Regions from separate parts of the Homo sapiens genome. Here region 2 is linked to region 1. Evidence: promoter capture Hi-C in human tissues and cell types (Jung and others, 2019). All regions are on one chromosome and are shown on one strand. The core of a region is centred on a gene start or on the middle of the fragment in contact, and the rest is flanking DNA. Distances in the headings are between cores, read along the strand shown. Region 1 holds the start of NKX2-1 (NK2 homeobox 1). Region 2 overlaps LOC105370452 (a long non-coding RNA gene).

What was found. Contacts are between HindIII fragments. The study calls those that stand out against the background at their distance.
Region 2: a contact is called between a fragment that was not itself captured here and the fragment with the promoter of NKX2-1 in region 1, in 1 of the 25 tissues and cell types used here (dorsolateral prefrontal cortex).

Annotation. Positions count from the first base shown.
Region 1 is chr14:36,518,866-36,521,782 of GRCh38, reverse strand. It overlaps NKX2-1 (NK2 homeobox 1), which reads left to right and starts at 1,551. Exons shown (of 3, transcript NM_001079668.3): 1 at 1,551-1,730; 2 at 2,413-2,798. The coding sequence starts at 1,654. SFTA3 (surfactant associated 3) reads left to right here and starts at 2,227. Exons shown (of 5, transcript NR_161365.1): 1 at 2,227-2,315. It overlaps NKX2-1-AS1 (NKX2-1 antisense RNA 1), which reads right to left and starts at 2,505. Exons shown (of 2, transcript NR_103710.1): 1 at 2,104-2,505; 2 at 1-139. RefSeq lists enhancers at 1-135, 136-1,135, 1,136-2,135. The HindIII fragment of the contact is 7,239 bases long and covers 1-2,917 here.
Region 2 is chr14:36,056,441-36,059,357 of GRCh38, reverse strand. All of the region lies in intron 1 of LOC105370452 (a long non-coding RNA gene), which reads left to right. Among named protein-coding and RNA genes, the nearest start is that of LINC00609, 13 kb to the left of the region's middle. The HindIII fragment of the contact is 4,747 bases long and covers 1-2,917 here.

The DNA of each region.
Region 1 (2,917 bases), core at 302-2,801:
GCTCTGGTCTTTCGCAACACCAGCGGCGAGCGCGTCTCCCTGCGCAAACGTAGGGTGGCCTCCCCAGCTCTGCCGTGGGGACCGCACAAAAACGCGGGCGCAGGTGGGAGGGCGGAGGGTGTCCTGAGCTTTCTTTACCCTGGTAAAGAAGGTAGGCGGTGAGAAAAGCGAATGTTATTATAGAAGTTGGCTTTGTATTGAGGGAGTAAGAGCTCTCTTCAAGGAGAGGGCTGAAATCTTTAAAAATAAATAAAACTTTCTCTACTGTAATTGCTATTAATAAAAAAAGGGAGCCCGGATGAATTAAGTAGCTCAAAACTGCCTGTTCGTCATGATCAGGAGCTCCTTCTCTACAAGGAGGGGAAAGAAAATGTGAAAACAAAAACTAAATTCAAGAAGCTCCTTGACCAGCGCGGGTGTCTTGGAGGCACCTGCCGGGGCCGGCCGGGGAGCGCTCCGCCCTCCCAGCCCCTGGCGCGCAGAGGAGACTAAAACAGCTAAGGAGAAAGCAAAACAAAAACAATGATAAAAACGTTTAAAATCCAAGGACAAAAACCGGAGTCGGTCTCAAAATCCGCGCCGTTCAGTGCTCCACTCGGTAGTCGACTCGGCTGCAGGCCCCGGCCTGGCCGGAGCAACGCGGGGGACACCCCCGATTCCGCTGGGGAGCGCAGCCCACAGCTCCCCCTCGCCAGGCGCCCAAGGACCCTCAAGGCGCGGGGCCCACACTTGAAGCCTGGGAACGCGCAGACAGGAAACCCTCTTCCTCCTAAGCAGTTTCTTGCTCGTCGGATGAGAGGCGCCCAATTGAAGCAGAATGATCCTCATCTACTAATATCCAGCGTGGCCACAAAGCGACTGGCCATTTACGCCACCACTTTAAACAAAGATATTTGGTTATTCCCGGGAAGCAAGAGCACTTTTGCATGGCTGAGCTGCGGGCGGAGGCGAGCCTCGGCCCAGCCTCCCGCCCGCTGAGCTGCCCGCACCTCGGCATTCGCCCCCTCCTGGCCAGCGCTCCAGCCGCCGGGGTTCAGGCTCAGTTCCGCCCGGCAACAGACAGACGGGCACTCACGCCGCTCCCTGCTCGCGCGCTCCCTGAAGCATCAGAGGGGAAAACAGCGTGGCTCTGGGCTCGGGTGCTGGGGCTGTGATGTCCTCGGAAAGTCAGCTCCAGCCCCAGATCCCCGCGTGTCTGGGAGATGGGCGAGGGTCAGGGACACCAGGTTTGTTCGAGGTGGGGCAACTTCAGTGACGGACCCTCCCGTGAGACCCCTTCCCATCCTCCCAGCTCTGGGGGCCAGTGCTGTGTTTGCTCGGCCGGGGGTGGGGGGGGGGGGGGAAGACCTTGGGGGAGGCGTGTTAGCGGGGGTGGCCCACTGAAAAACCCCTGAGCTGCGGGGGCGGGTTGTGGCTCGGGGATCCGGGACAGCCTCCGGGAGGCAGTCGATCCCCTACTCAGCGCCCCCTCCGCCCGCTCGGATTCTCTCCGGTAGGGGGAAAGGGGGCGGGGAGCAGAGGTGTCCCTCTGACGGCGGCAGAAGAGAGGCAGACAGACTGACAGACACGTAGACCAACAGTGCGGCCCCAGGGTTCGTCCCCAGACTCGCTCGCTCATTTGTTGGCGACTGGGGCTCAGCGCAGCGAAGCCCGATGTGGTCCGGAGGCAGTGGGAAGGCGCGGGGCTGGGAGGCCGCGGCGGGAGGGAGGAGCAGCCCCGGCAGGCTCAGGTGAAACCCCCACCCTGTCCCTCAGCCCCCTCCTCCTAAAGACCTGTCCGTGCCCGGGGAACCCCGACCGAATTGGAAAGTGGTTCCACTTTGTAACTCCGCAAGTTGGTTGCAAAGCAGCATTCACCTTCCTTCCTCTCAACCATCTCTCCTCCTCTGTTACTCCCCCACCCCACCTCCTGCCCTCCCCGCTCTCGGTTCCCTCCTCCTTCCCCTCCCCTCCACCTCCTCCCCGCGCTCCGCTGGTACCCCACAAAAAATGGGGGTGGGGGTGTCCAAGGGAGGGGGGAAATGCTTTGGGTCTCGTCTCTGCCTCTCTCTCTCTCTCTTTGAGACCTAAAAATCCTGACAAGTGAAACTTAAAGGTGTTTACCTTGTCATCAGCATGTAAGCTAATTATCTCGGGCAAGATGTAGGCTTCTATTGTCTTGTTGCTTTAGCGCTTACGCCCCGCCTCTGGTGGCTGCCTAAAACCTGGCGCCGGGCTAAAACAAACGCGAGGCAGCCCCCGAGCCTCCACTCAAGCCAATTAAGGAGGACTCGGTCCACTCCGTTACGTGTACATCCAACAAGATCGGCGTTAAGGTAACACCAGAATATTTGGCAAAGGGAGAAAAAAAAAGCAGCGAGGCTTCGCCTTCCCCCTCTCCCTTTTTTTTCCTCCTCTTCCTTCCTCCTCCAGCCGCCGCCGAATCATGTCGATGAGTCCAAAGCACACGACTCCGTTCTCAGTGTCTGACATCTTGAGTCCCCTGGAGGAAAGCTACAAGAAAGTGGGCATGGAGGGCGGCGGCCTCGGGGCTCCGCTGGCGGCGTACAGGCAGGGCCAGGCGGCACCGCCAACAGCGGCCATGCAGCAGCACGCCGTGGGGCACCACGGCGCCGTCACCGCCGCCTACCACATGACGGCGGCGGGGGTGCCCCAGCTCTCGCACTCCGCCGTGGGGGGCTACTGCAACGGCAACCTGGGCAACATGAGCGAGCTGCCGCCGTACCAGGACACCATGAGGAACAGCGCCTCTGGCCCCGGATGGTACGGCGCCAACCCAGACCCGCGCTTCCCCGCCAGTAAGTGAGGCCGCCCCACTGCGGGGCCGCGGGCTGAGCTCAGGAGGTGCGGCGAGAGCCGTCCAGAAGGCGCGGCGCCGGCAGGCTGCGCGCTGGGCATCAGGGAGGGCGGCCCGGCA
Region 2 (2,917 bases), core at 206-2,705, 460 kb after region 1:
TCTTATGGACCAACACATTGGGAGTCCTTGCCCAGCCACTGGCCTCCATCTTTTAGCAAATGTATTCCTCCCTCATGTTCAATTAATTTCCCCCTTCCCAACTCCAACCATGTGGTTACAGGAAAATGTGGCATGTTCTTACCTGATCGTGCCCTCCTAGACACAGCTGGCATCCAAGGCTGAGCAGCCACCTGACCCGGCCACCCAGAGTTCTCCCCTAGCCTTTTAAAAAAATTAATCTGGGAGAGTCAGTCTGTCTCTCTGATAGAAGAAGTTGTAAAAGAACTCCCATGCAAGGTGTCAACAGCCCCATTAACTGCCAAGTGGAGAAAGCTGGTCTGCAGTGGGAGAAAATAGAGCCGGCACCAAGAGAAGTAAAAACCAAAAAGAGAGACAAAGTCCTGACAAGCTGGTTCCTGGTTTGAGGGTTCCTGAGGCCCCACTGCATTCCTTCCTGCCCGGCTGGTGACTTGGTCATCCTACTCTTCTTTCAGTCATGTCGGCTACCCCAAGATCCTTCCATTAAATATCCCTTTTGCCTAAACGAGTTAAATATGGACTTCTGACACTTATCTAAAGTCTAGTGACTCAAATTAGTTTTTCTCAACCAAAATAAACTATGGAATAACCCTTAAATATGGCTTGGGTACAGACAGCATATTTCTTTACAAAACAAATTCAGAGGTATGTTGATATTCTATTAGATTGATTGTTGTAATGGATTTCTCTAATTTGCAGAGATTTCATACCAAATTTGTGTGACAGATTCTTATTACTGAGTTATTAGATTACCCTGAAGGACAAATGCTTGTATCTGTATTTTCTCTTCTTTCTTTTCAATGATATTGTCTTACATTAGTTGGCAAGCAAAAAACCTCAGGAACAACTTGCTCGACTTCATTTTCCAAGTGTAAATTGTCCTGTGTGTACATTACTCTTGGTCATATTTCATGAGGTTATAGTGTTTTAGAACTGGAAGGAATCTCATTATCTGTATAAACCTTTTGTTAGAAGCCAACTGGAGTCTGGTAAAAATCTTGAAGAATCAAATAAGTATATATTCAATCAATACAACCTCTTGAGAACACTTCTAAATTACTACTGTCAGTCCAAAAAACAATAATACTATTTTCAATATTAATACTTACATTCAGTTTGGGAACCTTAATATCCCTTCTTTCTCAGTCCTTTAAGACAGAGACCAATCTGCCTTACTATAAAAGGAACAATAACAATATTAAAACAAATTGGTAGCATAAATAAAAACCATACAACCTCATTATCTTTGTGGAGTAAGTGATTACAGTGCTGCTGGTTACCTGCAGAGGCAAAATGCTACCAGCGGCAATTTTGGTGAATTAACTGGGGTTTATTGGCATACTGTCAAGAATTTAGAATGACTCATGGAATGAGTGTTAATGGAGTGAAACCTTCATTCCATCTATTTGGCAAATGGCAAGGCAATCTAATTGTTTTTCCCTAAAGCAACACAACAATCAGATATTTAGACAGCACATTACTTCCTTTCCTACTGGAAGAAACAGGAGTCATGAGATAAGAGAAGAGATCTAAAAAGCACTGAGATTTTTCTTTGAGTTTTATTAGATTTGCTGAACCTGCACTACATGTTTGAAATGCAGGACTGAACAAAAACGACTGCATTTCTAAGGTAAGCAGAGTATCCAAGGGAGAAACTTGACGTGAATAAACAAATGTTACTGAGTACCCACTGTGGACTCAGCTCTGTGCTAGATACTTCTCAATCGTATTACCTAATAAGAAAACAACTATGAAAAAAAAAAAAAGTATGAGACCATAATTAAAACTAGTTTGTAGAGTGCTCATATCACGGAGGCACGTAAGTCATACAACCCCTTACCGCTCAAAGGGTGGTCTGCTGACCCTACCATCGCCATCGCCTTTGAGCCTGTTAGCAATGCAGAGTCTCAAGCCCTGCCCCGACCCATGAAATCAGAGCTACATTTTAACAATCTCTCCATTTGCACATTAAAGTTTAAGAAGCACTGATTTAACCAACTGTCTTGGCTTATAATTGAGAAAAATAAGGCTCAGGGTGGTTAAGTGATGTGTCTGACCAAACAGCTAGTTAGGAACCCAGCTGGGACTCCCAGGTCTCTCAGCCCGCAGGCCAATGGAACTCAGGATACTGCAGGATTTCAGACAAGAGGGATTTAAGTGTGTGTCATTTCCTCAAATGACCATTGATTGTTCCCATCTTCGCTGTGCAAAGCACATACGTACAGAGACCCTGAGTGAGGCCAATCATCCTGCCTCCTCCCAACACCTCCTCCCACTAATACTCCTGCACAGTCCTCCCTGGAGGGACTTCCCCTTTGCCTGTCCTCATTCTAACCTTTTCCAAGGCCCTGTTAAAGAACCAGCTGCCCATGAAGCCTTCCCTAATGACTCCAGTCCTCTTCAGTTTCTGCATTTTTAATTCAGATTTGCTTCTACATTCTGCATAGGGCATTCTAAAAAGTTACTTATTACACCCTGACACATTTTCTAATACTATGTACTAGACATATTGGCATATGGTTATATAACAATAATATAGATGCAATCTTTTTCTCTATTGTGCTTTTCAATAATTGTATCTATGTCTCCTTTCCAAAATAGATTACTTGTATTTTATCATATTAGACCATCACTTAACACAATAACAGAAATAATACGAAACTCTTGGTGGTGGAAGGGATCCTCTCTAAAACATCCCTAAGACATAGACATGCAGTTTTTTACTTGCATGCTTCCTGTGTTAGGAGGCTCACTACTTTTTAAAAAACAGTACCCTTTTAATTCTGAAATTTAGTTATTAGAAAATTCTAAGCCAAAATCTACTTCCCACTAACTTCTACCAGTGTCCTCAGTTCTGCCCTTAGAGGTAGTTTTGAAC